6 separate regions of the Homo sapiens genome follow, and regions 1, 2, 3, 5 and 6 are each linked to region 4. Evidence: promoter capture Hi-C in 16 types of primary human blood cells and fetal thymus (Javierre and others, 2016). All regions are on one chromosome and are shown on one strand. Each heading gives the region's core, a stretch centred on a gene start or on the middle of the fragment in contact. The rest is flanking DNA. Distances are from core to core; before and after follow the strand shown.

Evidence for each region. The method cuts DNA at HindIII sites, captures the fragments that hold promoters and counts their contacts. A CHiCAGO score of 5 or more calls a contact.
Region 1: a fragment that was not itself captured here is called in contact with the fragment with the promoter of PMPCB in region 4 in 6 of 17 cell types (total B cells, naive CD8 T cells, M0 macrophages and 3 more); the score reaches 8.8 in total B cells.
Region 2: a fragment that was not itself captured here is called in contact with the fragment with the promoter of PMPCB in region 4 in 2 of 17 cell types (total CD8 T cells and naive CD8 T cells); the score reaches 6.1 in total CD8 T cells.
Region 3: a contact is called between a fragment that was not itself captured here and the fragment with the promoter of PMPCB in region 4, in 3 of 17 cell types (naive CD8 T cells, total CD4 T cells and non-activated CD4 T cells). The highest score is 7.7, in naive CD8 T cells.
Region 5: a contact is called between a fragment that was not itself captured here and the fragment with the promoter of PMPCB in region 4, in 1 of 17 cell types (total B cells). The highest score is 5.1, in total B cells.
Region 6: a fragment that was not itself captured here is called in contact with the fragment with the promoter of PMPCB in region 4 in 3 of 17 cell types (naive CD8 T cells, naive CD4 T cells and non-activated CD4 T cells); the score reaches 9.1 in naive CD8 T cells.

Annotation. Positions count from the first base shown.
Region 1 is chr7:104,886,956-104,891,251 of GRCh38, forward strand. All of the region lies in intron 2 of LHFPL3 (LHFPL tetraspan subfamily member 3), which reads left to right. Among named protein-coding and RNA genes, the nearest start is that of LHFPL3-AS2, 38 kb to the right of the region's middle. The HindIII fragment of the contact is 1,120 bases long and covers 832-1,951 here.
Region 2 is chr7:104,908,213-104,912,336 of GRCh38, forward strand. LHFPL3-AS2 (LHFPL3 antisense RNA 2) reads right to left here. Exons shown (of 4, transcript NR_027374.1): 3 at 3,704-3,864. It overlaps LHFPL3 (LHFPL tetraspan subfamily member 3), which reads left to right. Exons shown (of 3, transcript NM_199000.3): 3 at 1-349. It also overlaps the pseudogene RN7SL8P. Among named protein-coding and RNA genes, the nearest start is that of LHFPL3-AS2, 16 kb to the right of the region's middle. RefSeq lists a silencer at 1,967-2,123. The HindIII fragment of the contact is 7,345 bases long and covers 1-4,124 here.
Region 3 is chr7:104,927,848-104,931,910 of GRCh38, forward strand. No RefSeq gene overlaps it. Among named protein-coding and RNA genes, the nearest start is that of LHFPL3-AS2, 3.2 kb to the left of the region's middle. The HindIII fragment of the contact is 6,184 bases long and covers 1-4,063 here.
Region 4 is chr7:103,295,946-103,299,932 of GRCh38, forward strand. PMPCB (peptidase, mitochondrial processing subunit beta) reads left to right here and starts at 1,490. Exons shown (of 13, transcript NM_004279.3): 1 at 1,490-1,613; 2 at 2,623-2,763; 3 at 3,498-3,584. The coding sequence starts at 1,515. RefSeq lists enhancers at 1,285-1,344, 1,445-1,744. The HindIII fragment of the contact is 11,349 bases long and covers 1-3,987 here.
Region 5 is chr7:104,859,332-104,863,320 of GRCh38, forward strand. All of the region lies in intron 2 of LHFPL3 (LHFPL tetraspan subfamily member 3), which reads left to right. Among named protein-coding and RNA genes, the nearest start is that of LHFPL3-AS1, 57 kb to the left of the region's middle. The HindIII fragment of the contact is 1,015 bases long and covers 1,490-2,504 here.
Region 6 is chr7:104,946,808-104,950,951 of GRCh38, forward strand. All of the region lies in intron 1 of LOC101927902 (a long non-coding RNA gene), which reads left to right. Among named protein-coding and RNA genes, the nearest start is that of LHFPL3-AS2, 22 kb to the left of the region's middle. The HindIII fragment of the contact is 4,307 bases long and covers 1-4,144 here.

The DNA of each region.
Region 1 (4,296 bases), core at 142-2,641, 1.6 Mb after region 4:
AATGTGGCTTCACAAAGAGGCTCACTTGCTCTGAACATTTAACTGTGGATTTGGAAAGATCTGCTTTGTGACTTGTTTCCCACGTCTGAAAGGAAAGAAATCCAGAGAATTTTCTCCTTTCATGCCAAAACTTGTTATACTGGCAGCCATTCCCCTATAAATGTTTCCCACAAAGATGGGCACTGACTTCCACCAGGGGTACATCAGCATTAGCTCCACGGTGAATAACAGAAGGCTAAATGATTCCCTTGTAGGAAATAACTGAAGGGAAGGAAAGATGACTGTCTAACTTACTGTATAAGAATATTACCCTAGCTTGGGTTCCCCCATAGATAGATGCTGACACGGGATTTAAGTGCAGGTCATTTTTGTACGTAGAGATCCCAGAAGACACTGGTAGGGGATGAAAAAGTGAGATGGGGAGAGGAAGGTGGTCAATAAAGGGAGTATTAGCAAACAAGTCATTACTTGGGTAACTGGAGTGCAATCCCACTGGGGATTTCTGAGATTCCAGGGGCAAGGGAAGTGATATTTATAAATCAATTCTCATCAGTCATTGACTGAGGACTGCTAGAGGTAAGGGATGGTGATTCCCTGGCATTTCCAGTCTGTCCCATGGGTAAGCAGAGAGGACCCTGCTGGTCAGAGAATGTCCTCCAGCAAAAAGACGCAGAGGCTGGCAGTTAAACACTGGCCCAGTGGGCACTGAAATGGTAAAGCCTAAGGGGAAAGTGGCAGAGAAACGACAGCCTCTACTACAAGTACTGGCTTCTGCAAAGAGCATTTTCTAAGAATGGACGTTCTCTTATGAAGTCATCTTTATATGAACAAAGCTTAAAGGAAGAATGCTGGAAAGAGTTCAATGAGAGCTGAAATCCTGGAAATATGTTTAGAAGCAGGTCATCTTGGTTCAGATTGAGTGGACTAGATCTACTGGTAGGACTTTCAGAGTTGTTTGGGGGTTTTATTTGTGACAACTCTCAACAGCTTGAGAGTCAGAACAAGTTACAAAGAGAAGCAGATCTTGTATACCTGACTGGAGAAAGCAGCTCTGCCTTTCATTCTGGCAGGTGGCACTTCATCTGCTGTGGGCTGATCCTTCACAGAGCCACTGTGTCTACTCTTTCCAAAATCAAGAACCTCACATACATGTACACATACATACATGCTCACTCAGGGGACCACAATATTAGAGACACTGCATTAATTTGTTTTCATGTTTGGACATATTTTTAAGACATCTTACCCCTTCAAACAATAAACATTCTAATTATGTAAATATGTATCATAGAGGCCAGGCATGGTGGCTCACACTTGTAATCCCAGTGCTTTGGGAGGCTGAGGCAGGAGGATCACTTGAGTCCAGGAGTTTGGAAACCAGCCTGGACAATATAGCAAGACCCAATCTCTACAAAAAAAATTTAAATTGCCAGGTGTTGTGGCACATGCCTGTAGCTCCAGCTAACCAGGAGACTGAGGCAGGAGGGTCTCTTGGACCCAGGAGTTGGAGGTTGCACTGAGCTATGATCATGCCACTGCACTCCTGCCAGGGTGACAGAGATCCTGTCTTTTAAAAAGAGATATATAATACAGATATACACACATTCCACAGCAAAGAGATCTTGAAGTCCTACTATGTGCCAGGCATTCTGCTAGGTCATGGGGATTCAGAGATGTAAGGCCTGGTTCTTGTCCTTGAGGCATGCACAATGTCAGTGAGGAAGATTTCCTTGTAAGTAGATACGTTATACCTCTACAATGGAGTCACTGTCACATGTGTCAACAATGCATGGACAATCATGTGTAGGCTGTAGAAGGCAGAAATCTTAAGCCACTTGAATATTTGGGATGAGTCTAAGTTTTCCAGGCGAAGGAAGAGGGGAGATTTCTGTCCAAATTGTTTCCGTTAATGAATCCACTGAAAATCCCCATACTGACTTTTGAAAAGTCAAGCTTACATCAGAAAGTCAGCAGTTAGAAAGATGGAAGGAAAAGAAGTTACATGATAGCTTCACGTCAAGGAGAGATGAGTTGAATCTGACCAAAGACAGAAAGAGAAGAAAAAAAAGAAGTAAAGGTATACCTATTATTTAAACTCACAAAGGCATTGTTTAAAATCAAAATTGGGAGAGAAAGGAGGTGAGAAGGAACGGAGGTGAATCTTCACTTTTCTAGAGAAGACTCAACATATAGTGTCTAAAATTGATAAATGCATAATTAAACAAATGTTAACATAGTATTTAGACTACTGAAGTAACTACTGCAATAAAACTGGAAACTATTAAAACAGCTTGTCTCCAGGGAGTAAGACCGGGTATGAGAAGGGATGAAGTGGGGTGACTCTTCATTATAAGATCATTTGTATGGTCTGACTTTTTAAAAATCAAGTATTGGCTTTTCCAGGCCGAGCGTGGTGGCTCACGCCTGTACTCCCAGCACTTTGGGAGGCCGAGGCAGGTGGATCACTTGAGGTCAGGAGTTCAAAACCAGCCTGGCCAACAAGGTGAAACCCCAGCTCTACTAAAAATACAAAAATTAGCCAGGTGTGGTGTCACAAGCCTGTAGTCCTGGCTACTCAAGAGGCTGAAGTGGGAGAATCGCTTGAACCTGGGAGGCAGAGGTTGCAGTGAGCCAAGATGACACCACTGCACTCCAGCCTGGGTGACAGAGCAAGACTCTGTCTCAGAAACAAAAACAAGGAAAGTATTGGCTTTTCCAAAGAGCATTTTCTAAGAATGGATATTCTCCCATAAAGTCATCTTTATATGAACAAAGTTTAACAGGAGAACTCTGGAAAGATTTCAACGAGAACTGAAATCTTGGAAATATGAAGAATTTCAGTGGATAAATTAATGGAAACATTTAAAATCAATGTACATATTACCTTGATGAAGTAGAAATTTTCAAGTTCAAGCTGCTACACTCTGCCTGCTATATTATACCATCTCAAAATTATACATGTTCAATCAGTTTTTTTAATTAAAGAGCAGTCCTAATTATATTTCCTAGAGATCTTTCCTTCTCTCCTCTTCTCATTCGCTTCTTAGGATAAGGAAACATCTGGCAGGCTTGGTGGCTTGTGCCAGTAATCCCAGAAGTTTGTGAGATCGAGGCAGGAGGATTACTTGAGGCCAGGAGTTTGAGACCAGCCTGGCTACATAGTGAGACCCTCTTCCCTTCAAAAAATAAAAATAACAAATTAGCCAGGCTTCATGGCACTCACTTATAGTCTAGCTACTCAAGAGCCTGAGTTGGGAGGGTCCCTTGAGCCCAGGATTTTAAGGCTGCAGTGAACTATGATTGTGCCACTTCACTCACCTGGTCAACAAAGTGAAATCCTGTCTCTAAAAAAACAAGTGGTTGGGAGATTCTCCTGCTCTATACCTGCAGAGCAGACAGGAGGCCTTACTGGTCCTGTGCATCTTAATCTTTGCTCCATCCCCTTCCTCCCCCGCATTACAACGCCCCGTGGAGCTCAGGGGAAAATACCCAGTTGCTGCCTTGAGCAGTAGACTTGCCTCAGAGCTCCTAGCTTACTGTTTACATGCAGGGTCTGGAACTAAGCAGCTAAATTGGCTGTGTGTTTGTCCCTTTAGAACTGATTGTCAGTCCTTCCCCCTCAGTCCGTTCAGTGGATTCTGAACACTGGCCGGGTGAAGGTCTCATTGCCCAGAGCTGAGATCAACCGCTAACAAGAAGAAAACTATTTCAGGCCAGAGGCCATGGGAGAAATGGCGGGGAAGCCAGGCTCTTCTGTGGATGACACGCCAGGCTCAGGTGGCCAGTGAGGACCATCTTTGTGATTTGTTCATTCATTTTTTTACCTGAAATGGAGACTGATGTGGCTCCCGGGAGGGGGCTATGAAGAGGACAAGGCCTGTGAGGTGCTGCCAATACTTTCTTGCCTCACAGGCTGATGAGAATAGACAGAACCACAGCACCATGAAGCCCACCAGCAGCGCCCCAGCTCCCCAGCCTCGTGCCTGCAACAGAGTAGGTGGTCACTGAAGGTTTCATTTCTTTTTAATCTCCCATAGTAGAGAATTTCTGTTTCTACCATTATGACACAACTGTTGCAGCTATGAGGACAAATCTTTTGAGCCTTTCTGCAGATCTGGGTGCCTTACCCCCAACTTTCATATCAGAGACATCTAGTTGCCAAATTAAGGGTCTGTTTTGAATGGTTTCTTACTCTGTTTTGTGTTGCTATAACAGAATACCATAAAAAAAAAATTTGTTTTGTTTGAATTCTCTTTTTCAGGCAGCCCCCACAATCACAGCAGATTCAGAGAGACT
Region 2 (4,124 bases), core at 813-3,312, 1.6 Mb after region 4:
AGTACTTCCTATCCACATGTGAATGTTTTAAAAAAGTTTTTGCCATAAAACCTAAGTGTAATTTAGCATACCACAGTGCTCTGAAGATGGGTCATTGACGATGTACCATTTGTATATAGGTAATACACATGTAAATCACTAATTGTTAATTAAATATAAGAAGTAGGTTTTTATCTTTTTAAAAAAAAAACAAAAAAGGTGACTCCCTTTCTCATTCTGTTCTGTTGTATTGCGTCCAAAAGTTGTGTGTAATTTTTTTAAGGTCCAAGAAATGTAAAGAAATTTGTTGGAATACCTGAATTTCTGTAAAAAAATAAAAATAAAAATAAGATTTTGTTACTTAAAAGAATTTTTGGTGGTGTGGTACATATTTGGTGCATTCAGTTTCTGTCTTTGTCCAGTGATCTGGTGACAGCTGATGGTTCCACTGAAGTAACTATCTCGGAAAATCTCCCTGCTGTTGGATTCCATATCTGTCAACAGCAGGACTCTCATGTAGAAGGCATGGTTAACATCTCCAAAGCCTCTTCTGGCCAAATGTAGGAATATCTCCAGCTAATTCTCCATACACTCAGTGGAATGAAATTGATAACTAAATAAATAGCTGGACTACTCAAGTAAAACTTGACCTGCAATATCCAATTGCCCAATCTCCCCTTTGCAAATTGAAAACAACCAACCATTCCTCGCACATGAGCAACCCTTCATACTGGGTATATGAAGCAACAACACTTCATACTGGGTATATGTTGTCTGAGTGGGTTCCAATCCCTGATCCTTGGTTTACTATATGACTCTGAACAACTCTAAGCCTCAGTGTCCTCACTGGTAAAATAGATATAAATAATATTACTCAGCTCCATAGCATTGTTGTAAGGATATAAATTAAACTATACTGTTGTTGTGTTTGACAGGTAGGGGATATTCAGTGAATGTTCATTCCTTCCCCTCCTACTATATGCAAGACACTGAAGGAAGAAAAGAAACATAAAAAAAAGTCTCTGCTCTGAAGATCCTGAAGACAATTAGAGTGACATTTATAAGCAGGGATTGAAAATTCAAATGCGTACAAGGGCCAATAAATTCACAAAGCAAGCTCAGCTGGGGACATAATAGGGCGTAGTAGGAACTGGCCTGGCACAGTGGCCTCTAATCCCAGTACTTTGGGAGGCTGAGGCAGATGGATCACTTGAGTCCAGGAGTATGTGACCAGCCTAGGCAATATAGTGAGATCCCTTCTCTGAAAATAAAAAAAAAAAACAACAATAATTTTTTAAATAAAATAAAATAAATTTTTAAAAGGAAGTAGTGGGAACTGTGGAGCACTGAAGAGCCTAGGTCCCGTCTAAAGGGAATAAGTAGTCAACGCTCAGCTCTAATGATTCAAGAAATATGTATTGAGTTCCTACTATGTGCCAAGAACTGTTCTAAACTCTGAGAATATAGTGGTGAATCACACAAAACCCTGCTTTCCTTTCATAGGTCTTATGTTCTAGTAGGGGAAGACAGACAATAGACTGGAAAATGTCAGCTAATAATAGATGCCCTAAAGAGAATTAAAACAGGGTGATTGACAGAGAAATGGAGAGAGGAGTCAGGTAAGGCCTCCATGAAAAGGTGGCATTTAGAGTGAGACCTGAACAAACGTTTAAAAGCCACGTGTGAAAAAAGCAGAAGGCATGCCAGACCAGGAACGGCAAGGTGGCAGAGTGGGGAGCCACGTGGGCTAAGCTAGGACCCAGCTCTGGGCTTTGTAGGCCAGGATAGTTTGTACATTTTAAGTGTGAGAAAAAGCCACTGGAGGATCTTAAGCAGAAGAGTGATATAAACTATTTCACATTTCTAAAAGATTACTTTTGGTTTCGGCATCTAGCAGTATAAACTAGATACTCTAAAAAGCCTTTCTTTTTTTTTTTTTTTTTTTTTTTTTTTTAAGACGGAGTCTGGCTCTGTCACCCAGGTTGGAGTGCAGTGGGGCGATCTTGGCTAACTGCAACCTCCGCACCACCATGCCCAGCTAATTTTTGTATTTTTAGTAGAGACGGGGTTTCACCATGTTGGCCAGGCTAGTCTTGAACTCCTGACCTCATTATCCACCCACCTTGGCCTCCCATAGTGCTGGGATTACAGGCGTGAGCCATTGAGCCCAGCCTCTAAAAAGCCTTTCTTATGCCATACTATTAAATCTTAGATAAATTACAATAAGTTTATTTTTAACACACAGCTTAGATTATAAGAAAATAAGGGAAATTCCAAAAACATTTCAAAAAAGAAGTGGAGTGAGCTGAAAACTAAGTGTGAAATGTAAGCAAAGGCAAAAACTGGGCTTGCCTGAAGGTAAATCTGTATAACAAAGTAGGGAATGGAAGATTAAGCGTTGGGCCACTGGAAGCAGGTGAGTTAAATTTGACATTCACATCCAAAAGCAGGATGCTTGAAGATGGCTACATCCTAGGCAAGAGTGGTCTAGGAAAAATCCTCATGCTAGCGAAAGAAATCTATCAAGAACACCATCTCCACACTGGCTCTAGATGGAAAAAAAAAATAATAATGACCCCTTGAAATTTATCATATGCCTGCCCCCGTCAAGTATGGAATTCAGTCTTACACTCTCCATATGATCAAAGAAACCCCAACCAAGAAATTAAAGAGCTTTTTAGGGCCCCTTGTACCAGGCAGATACAAGCATTTGTTGTCTAGAGGAAAGCATCTCTCGCATAGCTCTCACCAATTAAGCTCAACAAAGTATGCAATTGCAATTTTAAAATTACTAAATATGGCTGGGCGCGGTGGCTCACGCCTATAATCCCAGCACTTTGGGAGGCCGAGGCAGGCGGATCACGAGGTCAGGAGATCGAGACCATCCTGGCGAACACGGTGAAACCCCGTCTCTACTAAAAATACAAAAAGAAAAAAATTAGCCGGGCGTGGTGGCGGGTGCCTGTAGTCCCAGCTACTCGGGAGGCTGAGGCAGGAGAATGGCGTGAACCCGGGGGGCGGAGCTTGCAGTGAGCCGAGATCGCGCCACTGCACTCCGGCCTGGGAGACAGCGAGACTCCGTCTCAAAAATAAAAATAAAAATTACTAAATATACAAATAAACTGTAAGCGATAATCAGCAGATATAACTAACAGCCGACTTATCACCCTACAGATTTTAGATAGTGGAATTACCAGATACACAATATAAAATAATCATGTTTTACATGTTAAGGAAATAAAGACAGCGTCTAAAACAATGAATACAATAAAGAGTACATTACATATAATCAGATAGATTAGAAGGAAATTTTTTAAGTCTTAGAAATTAAAACTATAATCACTGAAATTTAAAGTACAATGTGTAAATTACAAACAGGTATAACTGAAGAGAGGAGCTGTGAACTAGTAGACAGATCTAAAGAAATTACACAGAATACAATACAAAAAGCCAAGGGGTTGGTAAATGACAAAGAGGTTAAACAACAGAGAAGACACAGACATCTAACCAGATTTCCAACAGGAGAAATAGAGAGAATAAGGGAAAGGCAATATTTGAATAGAAAATGTCTGAAAATTTTTCAAAAATGATAAAGATATGAATCCACACATATAGGAAGCACAATAGATATCAAGCAAGATAAATATAAAGGAAGACATGACAGTAAAAATACAGGGAAAAACAGAGGAACTACCATAACAAGAACCAAAGAGAAATGGCATACCTCAGGGTGCGTGCCTGTGGTCCTGGCTACTTGGAGGCTGAGGCAGGAGGATGGCTTGAGCTCAGGAGCTCTGGGCTGCAGTGCACTGTGCCCATCAGGTGTCCGTGCTAAATTCAGCATCAAGAGGGTGACCTCCCTGGAGCGGGGAACCGCCAGGTTGCCTAAGGAGGGGTGAACCGACCCAGGTCGGAAACGGAGCAGGTCAAAACTCCCGTGCTGATCCTTTGCACCACCTGCAAAGGAATAATTTCTGGGCCAACAATAAATACCAGACACATTAGCATGATATATTTAAACTGCTGAGATAAAATAACTGTCAAAATAGACAGAGCGCACTGGCTCATCTCTCTACTCCCAGAACTTTGGGAGGCCAAGACAGGCAGATCACTTGAGGTCAGGAGTTCAAGGCCAGCCTGGCCAA
Region 3 (4,063 bases), core at 1,240-3,739, 1.6 Mb after region 4:
CACATGTTTAAATATCTTCATAAGAAGTTAGAAAAAGAAGACATTGAGGGAAAGCTCAGAGGAACATGTACCCACATGTGCCAGAAAGGAAGCCGGCAAGCTACCCTGGCCACACCAGGGTGAACAGAATAAACTTGTTATGGGCTAAACTGTGTCTTCCCATAAATTCATATGTTGAAGTCCTAACCCCCACTATCTCAGAATGTAACCATATTTGGGGATGGGGTTCCGTAAAATGGTAATTAAGTTAAAATGATGTTATTTGGGTGGGGCCTAATTTAACATGACTAGGGTCCTCATAAGAAGAGGAAATTTGGGCTGGGTGCGGTGGCTCATGCCTATAATCCCAGCACTTTGGGAGGCCGAGGTGGGTGGATCACCTGAGGTCAGGAGTTCAAGACCAGCCTGGCCAACATGGTGAAACCCCATCTCTGCTAAAAATACAAAAATTAGCAGAGCATGGTGGCAGGTGCCTGTAATCTTAGCTACTTGGGAGACTGAGGCAGGAGAATCTCTTGAACCCGAGAGGCAGAGTTTGCAGTAAGCTGAGATCGTGTCACTGCTCTCCAGTCTGGGCAACAGAGCAAGACTGTCTGGAAAAAAAAAAGAAGAAGAAGAAGAAGAAATTTGGACACAAACACACATATGGGGGAAGGTGATGTGAAGACACAGGGAGAAAACAGCCAAGGAGGGAGGCCTACAAGCCAAGGAGGGAGGCCTGGAACGGATCCTTCCTCATAGATCTCAGAAGAAACCAACCCTGCTGACACCTTGATCTTAAACTTCTAGCCTCCGCAACAGTGAGAAAATAAATTTCTGTTGTTTAAGCCACCCAGTCGGTGGTTCTTTGTTAAGGCAGCCCAAGTGACTTACTCAGTTCGGCTGCTATAACCAAATTTCTTAGATTGGGCAATTTATAAACAACAGAAAGTTATTTTTCACAGTTCTGGAGCCGGAAAGTCCAAGATCAAGGCTCCAGCAAAGTTGATGTCTGGTGAGGGCTGCTGTCTGCTTCACCGATGGCGCCTTGTGTCACTTCGTCACATGGTGGAAGGGTCAGAAGGGCACTCCCCCCAACTTCTTTTATAAATGGATTAATGGCATTCCTGTGGGCAGATCCCTCATGACTTAATCACTTCCCAGAAGGCCCACCTGGTAATACTATCACATCGGGTATTAGCTTTCAACATATTGGAACATATTGAAATTTTAGGGAGATACCAACATTCAGATCAGAGCACCTAGCAAACTTATACAGAGTTCCTTTTGATTTGCCATGCAAGTGCAGGGGTGTTTTTCCATACCCCCAACCAGTGATGTCTCCTTGAAACTCCACTCTGGTAACTTGCAGATTCCACATTGGGTGGAGCATGACAGGAAGGTCCACCCAACTCTGGGCCTTGAGAACAGAGCTTTGCTTGTCTGAAAGCAGTTGCCCTCTGGCTGGTGGTGCACATGTGTTTCTGGGCTCCAGAGTACTGCACATCTGAACAGTTGGAATCCAAGTCTGACCCATGTTGGTCCTGTACTTTTCCTAAGTGCTTGCTTGTTTTTCTTTCTTTAAGGTTAAGAATGAAGGCCCGGCGCAGTGGCTCACACCAAAAATCCCAGCACTTTGGGAGGCCAAGGCAGGTGGATCACATGAGGTCAGGAGTTCAAGACCATCCTGGCCAACATGGTGAAACTCTGTCTCTACTAAAAATACAAAAATTAGCTGGGCATGGTGATGTGCACCTGTAATCCAAGCTACTCGGGAGGCTGAGGCAGAAGAATCGCTTGAACCTGGGTGGCAGAGGTTGCAGTAAGCAGAGATCGCACCATTGCACTTCAGCCTGGGCAACAGAGTGAGACTGTCTCAAGAATAAATTAAATAAATAAATAAGAATGGAGGTATATGTGTGCGTGTTGGGGAAGAGGGAATCTAGCTATAAAAGCCCTATAGCTAATCTTTATACTAATTAACCATTAATATTTACTAATACTTAGAACTACAGTTACTATTTACATAGTATACAGCCATAGCTTATTATTAAAATATTTAAATAATTTCATAGTTGATTATAAATAGCATCACCCCTCTTCCTCACCCAATGCCTCTCTGGAAACTCCCCACAGCCCAGCAGCTAATCGGTTAATGCTGGCACTGAAGTGTTCTCCAGAACCTGCTCCAGCACAATCTTGACCTCCAATCTACAAAGAAGGAGCTTCCTCTGCCCTTACTGGTTGTTACATGTTTTTCAAGTTCATCCCTGCTTGGTATGTTCCCAGCACTGCCCTCTCAATTCTTTATGCTACATTATCTCACAGCAACCTGGAAACATACACTATGAGTATTTCCTTTTGCCTATAAAGAAACTGTGGCTCAGAGCAGCTAGAAGGAGGCAGAGTTCTTAATCACCACTGCTCCCTATTTTCCAGCTGTGCCCCCTGAAATTGGTATGTGAGAATTCTTTTATTCTCAGAAGAGCAGCCAAGAAGAGTTGAGAGGCTACAGCCCCAGAGTGCTGGGAAGGCTGGGTGTTCTCAGGCCTCTCCTTTTCTCCAGGTAAGATCTCCCCACACTGGCTGAGTGCAGTGGCTCACACCTGTAATCCCAGCACGTTGGGAGGCCAAGGCGGGTGGATCACTTGAGGCCAGGAGTTCAAGACCAGCCTGGCCAACATGGTGAAACCCTGTCTCTACTAAAAATACAAAAATTAGCAAGACTTGGTGGCACATGCCTGTAATCCCAGCTACTAGGGAGGCTGAGGCAGGAGGATCACTTGAACCCAGGAGACGGAGGTTGCAGTGAGCAGAGATTGCACTACTGTACTCCAACCTGGGCAACAGAGTGAGGCTTTGTCTCAAAAAAAAGCTCTCCCCATACTGAGAGAGGTCCCAGGTCACAGTAAAAACAAACGACAAAGAGTCCTGCAGGCAAACAGTTTTCTTTTCTTTTCTTTTTTTTTTTTTTGAGACAGAGTCTCACTCTATCACCGAGGCTGGAGTGCAATGGCACAATCTCCGCCCACTGCAACCTACACTTCCCAGGTTCAAGCGATTTTCCTGCCTCAGCCTCCTGAGTAGCTGGAATTACAGGTGCACACCACCACACTCAGCTAATTTTTGTATTTTTAGTAGAGATGGGGTTTCACCATGTTGGTCAGGCTGGTCTCGAACTCCTGACCTTGTAATCTGCCCACCTCAGCCTCCCAAGGCAAACAGTTTTCTAAAGCTGCACAATGGTTCTGAGCTCCTCACTGCAGGAATTTTGGGAACTCAAGAGGACCCCTCACTGGCATCGTTGTACCCCTCGGAGGGCACAGGACTGCTGAGAAGGGGGGCATGACCCACTTCAACCTTTGAAAGCCATGGCAAAAGTCTGCATCGCTGTCTGCTGGAACACCTGGACACTCTCCTGGCTCCCACCCAGGCCCTGATTGTTTTGTTGTAGGAACCCTACAGGCAAGTCCCTAACAATGCTCTGCCAACTTAGTGGACACTCGCCCAGACTGTGCGTGCAGGGAGGCCCACCTCCTTTCACCCTTGCCCTGCCTCCTGATTTCCTGGTGACCTTCTAACTCTGCTTGGGCCTTTCCCATGGCACTTAACCCCTGTGTGACCTGAAGACTCTATAACCCTAAAAACCAGTCCTGCTCACCAGCTGGCCTGGGTACAATAGCACTTGGAAAGCAAAGTCATGGGACTGAAACCAGAAGAAAACCTATTCATTAGAGGAGCAGCTGGCAGCTGGAAAACAGAAGGAGAGAGAAAGGAAGGCCAGTTCCTACCTCCTGTAGGACCGATTAACCAGGGATTTCAGAGCCAGTCACTCAGCCTGCCTAAGGCCCCCTAGGCCCCTCTCCTAATGAAAGCAGTGATGCTTATCATATCTCCCACATCCTTCCCAGCAGGGCTCAGAAGGGCAATCCCGCTGACAGGAGCTTTGAGATGGAAAGCAGTGGAGGGAGCGCAGGGGGTAGGGGGTGGGTTGGTGGGGGTTGGTGGGTGGGACCCAGGCTCTGACTTTGACAGTCAAGAGTATTCTTCGTCTAATTCCTCTCTCCAATTAAACATCAAAGAA
Region 4 (3,987 bases), core at 240-2,739:
ATTTGTAAAAGATCCTATAGGTAGTAATGTGAAAAAACTGACAATGGGCCTGGAGTAGATTGAAGAGGCAGGAAAGGGGTGTATCAATTGAATGTGGAAGATGGAAAAAGAGAGGAGCTTCTGGGTGGTTTGGAGTTTTGGGCAAATGTAGGTATGATTGGCTGTTTGGCATTGCAAATATGGGAAGAGATTCAGGGGACACAGTGAATTCCCTTTTGGACAAGTTGATATTGAGTTTCCAATGGGGTATTCAAGTGTAGTTTCCTAGTAGTTGATGGTTAAGTGGGCTGGAGCTCAAGAGAAAGGCCTGGGTTGGGCAGACAGGTCTTGAAGTGGAGGGAAAAACCCAGAGGGAGAATGTTCAGTAGAAGAGGCTTAGAGTCCTGGCAAACACCAACTTTTAGGGCAAAATGTAGTGTTTCACAGCACAGTCTTTGGCGTTAACCTATTACTAGCAGGGTAACCTGGGGCAAGTTATTTGACTTCAGTGTCTTAATTGCAAAATAAGCACTATACCATCTACCTGAGTTAGAAAAGCATTTGCAATTTTTAGTTCCTTGAGAGATCTGTGGGCTGGGCGCAGTGGCTCACGCCTGTAATCCTAGCACTTTGGGAGGTGGAGGTGGGTGGATTACCTGAGGTTAGGAGTTCAAAACCAGCCTGACCAATATGGTGAAACCCCATCTCTACTAAAAATACAAAGTAGCCAGGCGTGGTGGCACATGCCTGTAATCCCAGCTACCTGGGAGGCTGAGGCAGGAGAATTGCTTGAACCCAGGAGGCAGAGGTTGCAGTGAGCTGAGATTGCACCACTGCACTCCAGCCTGGGCAACAAGAGTGAAACTCCATCTCAAAAACAAAAACAAAAACAAAAAACAGATCTGTGAATAAAGAGGAGTCCAAGAAGGTGCAGAGGGAACTATGAGGAGGTGGAGCTCTAGAATATATTGAGAAAAGAGAATTTCAAAGAAGCCAACAATGTCAAATCCTCCAACAGGACTGTAACATAAGTCTGTAAAGTGTCCAACTTTTAGCAATTAGTGACCTTACCAAGGGCAATTTCTATGGAATGAGATGAGCCATATTGTAGAGGTTCGAAGAGTGGATAGTGGTCAACACGGATACATCGTTTCCTCCCCTCACGGCATCTGTCTCTCCCACTAGACTTTTCCTTTAAAGGCAGTGACTTATGAATATTATTCCACTGTTTTCAATCAATTCCATCCACCAGTGAGATATATTGCATCAGGTTACCTTTCATTCCACCGCATTTGTGCCTTGCACTTAGTAGGCGATCGATAAAATAACTGATGATAAAGGGGCTTCTGCAGACTCCCCAATTCATTTGGTAAAGACCGCTCAGCATCATGGTCGGGCCCTGATTGCTTTCACAACCGCTTCGAGGAGTGTCATTCCCATCACGGCCACAAGGTGGAGCCCACCTCCCTGCTCTGGGACCTCAGGTCGCGACCCCGGAAGCACATCCTTCATCCTCTACCTTCCTTCTAGCAGAAATGGCGGCTGCGGCGGCTCGAGTGGTGTTGTCATCCGCGGCGCGGCGGCGGCTCTGGGGTTTCAGCGAGAGTCTTCTAATCCGAGGCGCTGCGGGACGGGTGAGCTTCCCTCCAGGCCGGTCCTGTCCTCGAGATCTCGCCAGACCCGGCGCAGCGCACCTGAGAGTCGGCGCCACAGATCCGAACAGTGGGTCGGGCAGGGCCTCCTCGACCCGGACCCGCCGGGCGCCAGGCGGCCTGGGGCTGCTGAACTGGCCGGGGGTGACTGGCTTGTGGCCACCCGCCAGGAGACCTGCTAGTGACGTGTGGGATGACCCTGGTTTTCGGCTCCTCCCGCCAGCTACTGAGGAGTGCATGTTTGACCACTAAAAACGTAGTGCTTGCAAATTGGGGAAAACTAAAAAGTGAAATGGGTACCGCTCCAGAGTTCTATTTTTGCCTAAGACTGAACTTCGTCCTCAGCTGGGCTTCCCGCGAACCTGGACATCAATGAAGTAAAATTTTTTATGTATTTGCATTTTTCTCATGAGAGAGCCTCTGACTTTAAGCAAAGGGATGTGAGACTTTTGTATAAGGGCAAAGAAAAACTGCTGAAAGGCGAATAGTTTCTGGCCGAAAAGCCAGTCATTTGCATTTTGAACATCGACCCATCTTCCTATCCTCTCTCTCTTTTTTTTTTTAACCATTTCCAAACCCTGTTGCTTTTCTTGAACAATGAAAACCCGAGTGTCAGTTTTGTCTTGTGTGTAGGTAGTTTTACATAGTTTCCCTCTCTTTTTTTTTTTCCTGCTTGTTTTCTCCATAATGAATATAAAACATTTCTAGGAGAGGTAGTGAAATAAAGTCAATTTCTCTCTGGGTAATGATAATAATTGCTCATCTTCCCTGAGGGAAGGGCATGTTTATAAACACGTTGCTGGCTTTAGGACAGTGGCTGGTGACAGATGTTTCTAGGCCAGGCAGAGATCTCAGTGGAACCAAAATTCAAGAAGAAAGATTCTTTTATAGAGACAGCCTATTTAAAATAGATTTGGTTTTAAAAGCAACATTTAATATCAGATTAGTAATGTGTTTTGCTTTGTCTCTTCCACTTCCTACCCCCAACCAGTCATTATATTTTGGAGAGAACAGATTAAGAAGTACACAGGCTGCTACCCAAGTTGTTCTGAATGTTCCTGAAACAAGAGTAACATGTTTAGAAAGTGGACTCAGAGTAGCTTCGGAAGACTCTGGGCTCTCAACATGCACAGTAAGTGACTCAGGCAACCTTCTCTAAGTGACCCTTCATTTAGCGTAGCAAATTGTTGATTTTAATCTTTAGCTTTTTCGTTGGCTGGTGGTTCAAAAAGGGTGACAGTTATTTTGCCTTGACAGATTTCCATGAGTTGTGAACCTTTTCTTCCAGTGGTACTTAGTTACAGGGTGCATATGTATCCTGTTGCATTGTCTGCATCTTGTTCTTGTAGCTTATTATTGATTATTTATTTTCAGTAGTATTGATAATAATGAAAGAAATATGTTTGCAGGGCTACTCTGCCAAGTGTTTTTACTGATGTCTTATTTGATAAAAAGCAATTGTTTGTAGTGGGCATCCTCACACCTGTTTTATAGTTAAGGAAGTGAGAGAAGTTAAATGGTTTTGTTCAGGTAACTCAGCTAATACATGACAGAGCCAGGATTTCAACCGAAGTTTTCTGACAGTCTCTGATGTTCTTGATACTACAGTTATTAATTGGCTGGATTAATGAGTTGGGCAAAGAATCCTCATTGAAGGTGGCAGGTAGATACTTGTAGCACCCAGCAGTATCCTGATCGAAATTTTTAAATCTCATAGTTCACAGGAATGAACTATCAATTCACTCAGGTCAAGAAAATCTTAGTGTTAAGACCAGAAAGCATTTGTCAGAAAAAGGAAGGAGACTGTTCCCCCCAACCTCAAATAAATAAAATGAATTTATTTAATTGTTCTTTGATTGCATTAAGGTTGGACTCTGGATTGATGCTGGAAGTAGATACGAAAATGAGAAGAACAATGGAACAGCACACTTTCTGGAGCATATGGCTTTCAAGGCAAGTTGTAAGACTTTACAAAAATGCACTCTCTTTAAGAGATAATAAGCACAAAGTCTCATTCTTTAGAGGCAGGGAGAGCTCTTTCAGTAGTATAACATGTTTTATGTTTATTTTTCCAGGACAGTATCTAAAATAAGTAGTGATAATTGCTTTGTAAAGCTGAAATGAAAACTTTCTCTTGGGATGCAGGAGTTATCTGAACGTATACCATTTCTGAAGCCTGATGTACCTTATTTTTTTTTATTTAATTTTTTTTGAGATAGGATCTGGCTCTGTTGCCTAGGCTGGAGTGCGGTGACGCAATCTGCTTACTGCAACCTCCGCCTCCTAGGCTCAAGCCATCCTCCCACATTTACTTCTGGAGTAGCTGGGAGTATCTATATATATATATATGTTTGTT
Region 5 (3,989 bases), core at 747-3,246, 1.6 Mb after region 4:
TCTTTTTGAAAAAAATTATTATGAATACTTTCTGCATTCAAAAAAGCATTAAGTAGGCCAGGCATGGTGGCTCATGCCTGTAATCCCAGAACTTTGGGAGGCTGAGGCAGGCGGATCACTTGAGGTCAGGAGTTCAAGACCAGCCTGGCCAACATAGTGAAACCCCATCTCTACCAAAAACACAAAAATTAGCAGGGCATGGTGGCACATGCCTGTAGTCCCAAACACTCGGGAGGCTGAGGTAGGAGAATCACTTGAACCCGGAAGGCGGAGGTTTCGGTGAGCTGAGATCATACCACCACACTCCAGCCTGGGTGACAGAGGAAGACCCCATCTCAAAATAAATAAATAAATAAAGTATAAGTAGAGGTATGAATAGGGAGACCACAGAGGATTTTTAGAACAATGAAACTACTTAGGATACTATAATAGTGGATACACATCTGTCAATTTGTATAAATCCATAGAATGTATAATACTAAAAGTGTACTCTAATGTGGACTATAAACTCTGGGTGATAATGATGTGTCAATGTAGGTTTATCAATTGTAACAAATGTATCACTGGTAGGAGATGTTGATAGTGCAGAAAACAGTGCATACCTGGGGACAAGTTGTGTAAGGGAACTCTGTACCTTCTGCTCAATTTTGCTGCAAACCTAAAACTACTCTAAAAGTAACATTTTTTCAGAAGCATAAACTATGATGTGATAAACACCTGCTTACTCACCACTTGGCTTAAGAAATAAAGTACGACCCATAACCCCACTCAGTGTTGGACTGGGACTTAATTTCACTTCTAATCCTTCTACCACCACCCCCCAAATACACACACACATACACCCACCCACACACACACACACACACACACACACACGCATACCTCAAATGGCCTTTTTCTCTCAGGCCTGTTGTGCAAACTTACTCGGCTCTCCCTGCCCAATGCAGGCAGGGTTGATTATGAAATAATCCACTGCTGAATAATGAACCTTGCATGGTGTAGTTACTTCCAGCAATATATTTGTTCTAAATCTGAGCACCAACTAAAGATTTGCTGAGTCTCTGTTTATCAAAGGCTGATCAAGCACTTTACCGCTAATAAAGGGAGCTCATAACATCCTGGGGGTTCACTGTATGTGCAAAGAGCTAAAGACCTCTAGGTTTCCCAGGATAGTCCTCCAAGGGCTGCCCTGGGGATGCCCCTTAAGGATCTACACCCATTCCTTTCATACTACCCCCATCTTGCAGTCTCTTCACAAAAGCATCAGGGTGTTTCAACCAGACACTTTAAGAGGGAGCAGTAACAGCCTATTCTAAGTATCTTAAAAGGCAGCTATATGTAACAGTTTAAAAGTATTTACGTGTATTTCATCTCCTAGAATGTAAAGTGTTTATAGAAGAAATTTCAGACTCTACCAGTGAATGCCTGTCTCTCTTCTGACATCTCTCTTTCTCTTGCCAAGAACTAGAAAAATTAAATAAAATATTTAAGCTTATATCTCCTGTCTCCAGAGTAGACAGGGACACATAGAGTGTGCTAAGAATCCAGCCCCAAGGAGACAGGAGAATTTAATCTTTTTTATTTTAAATTTTTTCTGGGATATGTTTTTATCAATACAACTACCAGAGGCAATGCCATCTCAGACTTTTCTCCGACAATCTTGTGCTTTCCACTGTCGCATGCAATTAGGTGCTATTTATAGCTTTTTTAAAAAAGTAAAACATAAGATAATAAGAGAGAGCCGGTGAATTCTCCATTTTGTTGTTGATAAAGGTTTCTTTCAATATTATTTAAGCCAGATATTTTTCATCTATATTAGTTGTATTAGATTGTGTGTTAGTGTGGGGAAAAGGAGAAGAAAGGGAGTGATTAAAGACAGTTTCAAAAACATTTTGCCCCCCTAAGAGGACATAAGACAGAGATAAAGGGCACAAGGCAGGTCTGGGTTTGAGGCTTAGCTCTTTGGCTTACAGTGTATATGACCTTGGGAAGTACATTTAACTATTTTTTCTCATATATAAAATGAGCAATAATGTTTACCTCAGGGAGTTTTTGTGAGGATTGTGCCTGCATCAGTCAGATACCAGCAGGAGACAGATGGCACCTTCAAACAGGGTAATTTAGGATAGTTGGGAGAAGCAGCTATTTCCACAGCTATGGAGAGGACTTGGGAGAACCTTGGAGGATGACAGGGCCTCCCGGGTTAGCAACAGAGAGAGCTGTTATCTAATGCTGGAGAGAAGTGTAGCTGAAGCTGTCTGTACCTGTGGCTAGAGGAGGAGCCTCCTGGCAGAAGTGGTGGCCTTCTCTAAAAAAACGCAGCCACCCAACCTGGGTGAAAGTGATTCTTCTCCTAGAAAGTGATTCTAGGAGAAACTAATGGTCAAGCACCGAGCTTCCTGGTGGTCTAACATGGTCAAACGCACACTTGGAGAACCTGGGGAAGAGGGGAGAGATGCCTTCCCTTTTAGAAGATCTTCCCTAAAAAGCATTTCTGTCAGGCAAGCTTTGGATTGGCAGAGACATCCAGAGGTTATTCTCTCCAACAAGACCTGGAATGAGTGCTGCTGTCCACGCTGCTGATGGCAGGAATCCACAGGCTTTGGTGAACAGGCTGGCTCGTGGTAGGGCTGGGCTGCCTGTTTATTATAAAAGCACTGCAGCTTCTCATTCCTGGAGGCAGCAGGTTAGAGCTCACTCTGGCAAGCGATGCTGCCGAGTATCTCTTACACCATCTTCCAGCAATTTGTTTGCAACTATCAAGGGGTAAAAGGAAATCACCTGACATGGAGATTAAAAAAAAATACCCTCCAAATGCCACCTTCTTTGAGTTTAAGCCTCAAATACAACTTCCCCAAAATGCCATAGTCTGCCACCCAGAAAAATCAGACCCCCACCTTTTGCTGGAAGTTACAGACCAAGGCTAGTTAGAATCCCCTATGCCCTGAATTGTAATGCAGATGAAATGGGGTGAAAATGAACTTCAGGAGTGGACTTGAAAAGAACTAATCTTAGGAGCTACTACATATTGCCACCTCCAGGCACCAGGCACTTTAAAACATTACTCTAATTTTCTACTTGCCTTCTGGGTAGGCAGTGTTATCTCCTTTGTATTTTTCAGATATGAAAATGAGGTTCTGAGATGATAAGTGCTAGCCCAGGGATGCTCTGATAGAGCTGCATTTGAATTCAGCTTTCTCTGACCTCAAGCAGCACATCCTCAAGGCAAAGGAAGTCTTAATGCTTCCTTCTGCTTTGGAGAAGGGTAGATCTGGGCCAACCTGTGTATAAGCCGCTGGTCCCGCAGTGCCCAAACCCCTGACTGGGTACCAGATCCAGCTACCCCTCACCCCTGCAAAGCTCAAAGCTAGACACAGACCTGGACCTGCTGAACCCTGGGGCCAGCTTTCCAAGGAGCTTTATCCACACCTCTCCTTGGCCCTCACCACAACCTGGGAAGTAAGCAGAGCCTGATAAGTAACATTCATTCCACGGGAGAGTCAAAGAGGTAAACCTGGGATCCCCTAGCTGCCGAGTCGGAGCTGGAAGAAGAGCTCAGCTGCTTGGGCTGCTCCGCCTGGTGGTCTGATACAGTAACACGACAGTATGTGTAGAAAGATGTTGTATAACTGAGAAACCGAGTGTCTGTACACCACCTTATGCTATCTCAGATGTGGACGGCAGAGCCCAGTTACACAGAGCTGGAGTGATCCTGTGTTAATTGCCCTTCATATTTAGCTTAATGAGCTTTTCCTAATTAGTCATACAGCCCTAACCTGCACCCCAAAAAGATAATAAAAATAGCAGTGGCTTTGTGGTATTGATTCCAGATCTTATTTTTTGTTGTTTTCCTTGATCTCCATTTGACTTATCTCTTTCATCTCAAAATCTTATAAAGTGAATGATGCAAAAATGATGGGTAGGGGGTTGACCTCCTACTGGAGACTCACTATTCCTATGAGTGTGTTGAATTTCATTCTGGCCAAACA
Region 6 (4,144 bases), core at 778-3,277, 1.7 Mb after region 4:
CCGAGCGCAGTGGCTCATGCATGCCTGTAATGCCAGCACTTTGGGAGGCCGAGGTGGGAGGATCACCTGAGGTCAGAAGTTTGAGACCAGCCTGACCAACATGGCAAAAACCCATCTCTATTAAAAATACAAAAATTAGCTGGGCATGGTGGTGGCCACTGTAATCCCAGCTTCTCTGGAGGCTGAGGCAGGAGAATCACTTGAACCTGGGGGGTGGAGGTTGCAGTGAGCCAAGATTGTGCCACTGCACTCCAGCCTGGGCAACAGAGACTCCATCTCAAAAAAAAAAAAAAAAGAAAAAAGAAGTTAATGATTACTATTAATACTTGAGCTATAGCTTATTCATCATACCAGAGACTTCTGTACCTCTATTGATGTGACTTCTCTAATCATGTCTGCTCTTATTAGATGTGTGACCTCGGGAATTTTATTGACCCTCTCTAAGCCTCAGTGTTCTCCTCTATACAATGGCTACCATGATGGTACTTATAATTGGGAAGACTACATGATTTAGTGTAAAGGGCTTAGCCTGGATGCCTGGAACCTAGTGAATATTTAATAAATGGTGACTATTGTTTATTATAAAAGAACTTGGGAGTCCAGCACAAAATAAATGCAAAATTTGCAATCATGAAACATGATTGATTTAGAAGAGGCATGTAGGCTGGGCACGGTGGCTCACGCCTGTAATCCCAGCAGTTTGGGAGACCGAGGCGAGCAGATTGCTTGAGGCCAGGAGTTTGAGGCCAGGCTGGCAAACATGATGAAACCCCATCTCTACCAAAAATACAAAAATTAGCTGGGTGTGGTGGTGTGTACCTGTAATCCCAGCTACTCTGGAGGCTGAGGCCTGAGAATCGCTTAAACCCAGGAGGCAGAGGTTGCAGTGAACCGAGATTGTGGCACTGCACTCCAGCCTGGGCGACAGAGCAAGACCCTGTCTCAGAGGCATGTAAAGGAAAGGCCGATTATCAGAATTAGAGCAATTGCTTCCTTTGCAGACACGATCTAGATACCTAGGTTTTATGCCCAATTTTGCCCCTGAGAATGAAGCACCAGGAGTACTGCAAAATCATCTGGGTGTTTTCCCATCACTTTCCATAAAATGAGGAGAAACTCACAGTCTAGTGTTCACCTTGGGAAGATGGTGGTATTTTGGTATTTTTGAAGCTGTGAGGTCTTTGGGAAAGAATATTTAAGTGCTCTTTCATGTGTTGAACAAAAATGGCTTCAGCCAATCACAGAAGCTAAGAGCCACTGTCTGAACTGCAGGAGGATAGATGCTGGATTTATCTCACCCACTGCTTTGTCTTCAGCACCTGGCACAACATGTGGTACATAGTACACATTTATAAAATATTTGTTGAATATGTAAGTGAATGGAGCAGGTGCCTCAACACACAGCAATGGTAAGATGCTGCCTAAGGGGATGTGGTCTCACTTTTTTTGTAGATCTAGGTAGGGCAAATCTATGGAATACGGAACTAGAGGCATTTGTATAATCGTTGACTGGTCTTCTTGGTGGAGGGTTGGAGGTGGACCACAGGTTGCTGAATAAGGAACCCACAGAAATGTTGATTGCTGCTTTTTTTTTTCCCTTCAAAAGCCCCTCGATGCCTGTTATTTTGAATATGGGAGCTTGAGTTATTTATACTCTATTTCTCATGCAAAGTGAGATAAGAAAAAATGAAAAATGTAATACCTTAACGATCAGGGTAAGTTATAGAAATAGCCCACTTTGAGACAGGGATAGATGTAGACCCTGGCAGATTAATCAGATTTCATCCTAAAGTCTCAGACATGCAAGGATGCTATATGCACACTTTATGTAATAGCAAAAGACTAGAAAAAATGCAAATGTCCACCTATAGGGGACGTCGACACAAGTAATATTGTGCAGCTGTAAAAAGGAATGAGAAGTAGTTCTGTGTATTAGTATAACCTATATTAAGTGAAAAAAACAAAGTGCAGAATGGTGCATAGAGTATGCTATCTAAGAAGGAGAAATACAACTACATATATGTATGTGCCTTTTTTAAAAAACTGGAGGCCAGGCATGGTGGCGCACACCTGTAATCCCAGCACTTTGGGAGGCTGAGATGGGTGGATCACCTGAGGTCAGGAGCTCAAGACCAGCCTGGCCAACATGGCAAGACCCCATCTCTACTAAAAATACAAAAATTAGCCATGCTTGGTGGTGGGCACCTGTAATCCCAGCTACTTGGGAGGCTGAGGCACGAGAATCTCTCATACCTGGGAGGCGGAGGTTGCAGTGAGCCGAGATTATGGTGGGTGACACAGTGAGACTCTGTCTCAAAATGTAAATAAATATATATTTAAGAAGTGGAAGCATAAGCCAAACACCAGTAAAAATAGTTATCTAGGAGATAGGGGAAGAGAGTAGAAGGGAGAAAAATGGAAGCTAGGCTTGACTTCCCTGAATGTGCCTCATTTTGTAGGTTTGACATTGGAACCATGGATATGTTTGTTTGTTTGTTTGTTTGTTTGTTTTTTGAGAGTCTTGCTCTGTCGCCCAGGCTGGAGTGCAGTGGTGCAATCTTGGCTCACTGCAACCTCCGCCTCCTGGGTCCAAGCAATTCTCCTGCCTCAGCCTCCCGAGTAGCTGGGACTACAGGCACCCGCCACGACACCCGGCTAATTTTTTGTATTTTTAGTAGAGACGGGGCTTCACTGTGTTAGCAAGGATGGTCTTAATCTCCTGACCTCATGATCCGCCCGACTTGGCCTCCCAAAGTGCTGGGATTACAGGCATGAGCCACTGCACCCACCTGGATATGTTTTACATAATTATAAAACAAAATTTAATAAAGATGGACCAGGCACAGTGGCTCACACCTATAATCTCAATACTTTGGGAGGCCAAGACGGGTGAATCGCTTGAGCCCAGGAGCTCGAGACCAGCCTGGGCAACATGGTGAAACCCCATCTCTATAAAAAATAAAAAGTTTAACTTGGTGTAGTGGCAGGCGCCTGTACTCCCAGCTACTTGGGAAGCTGAAATGAGGCCAGGGGGCAGAGGTTGCAGAGGTGGCTCTATTGCACTCCAGTCTGGGCAACAGAGTGAGACCCTGTCTCAAAAAATAAAAATAAAAATAAAATTTAATAAAGATGGGGGCAAAAAAGAAATTCCTAAAAACTGAATGCAATTGAAACAAATAATTTTAACTGTGTATTGAATTAGTGATTTAATTTTACAGAGATGAATTATTTTAAGTGACTTTAAAATACAGTAAGCGATCTGTACTGTAATATAGCCTAAAGATGAATGGAAACAGTATATTAGTTTGCTGGGGCTGCCATAAGAAGCACCACACACTTGGTGGCTTAAACAACAGAAACTGGCTTCTGCACAGTTCCCGAGGTTTGATGTCCAAGGTCAAGGTGTGGCAGAGTTGGTTTCTTCTGATACCCATCTTCTCGGTATGTAGATGACTGCCTTCTCTCTGTGTCTTTACGTGGTCTTCTCTCTGTGCACGTATGTGTCCTCATCTCTTCTTATAAAGACACTAGTCAGCTCACACCTGGAATCCCAGCACTTTGGGAGGCTGAGGCAGGCAGATCACAAGTTCAAGAGATTGAGACCATCCTGCCCAACATGGCGTGAAACCCCGTCTCTACTAAAAATACAAAAATTAGCCGGGCGTGGTGGCTCATATCTGTAGTCCCAGATACTCAGGAGGCTGAGGCAGGAGAATCGCTTGAACCTAGGAGGTGGAGGTTGCAATGAGCAACAGAGCAAGACTCTATCTCAAAAAAAAAAAAAAAAAAAAGACAGTAGTCATATTGGATTAGAGCCCACCATAGAGAGCTCATTTAACCTTCATTACCTCTTTGAAGATCCTATCTCCAAATACAGTCACATTCTGAGATACTTCAATGTATTAATATGGGGAGGGGGGCAAGGGCAGGGAGGAGACACAGTTCAGCCTGAAACAAACGTCAAAGAAATCTAAAACTGCATTCTATGGTGTAGTTGTAATATTGACATTGGTGTGTGTACAGTTTGAGTTTTAGCCCCAACTAAGGTCCCAGACACCATGGAGTGTCCCGGATTCCCTTCCCAAATTCCTGACCCATAAAATTATGAGCAAAATTTAAAAGTTGCTTAAGCTACTGAGTTTTT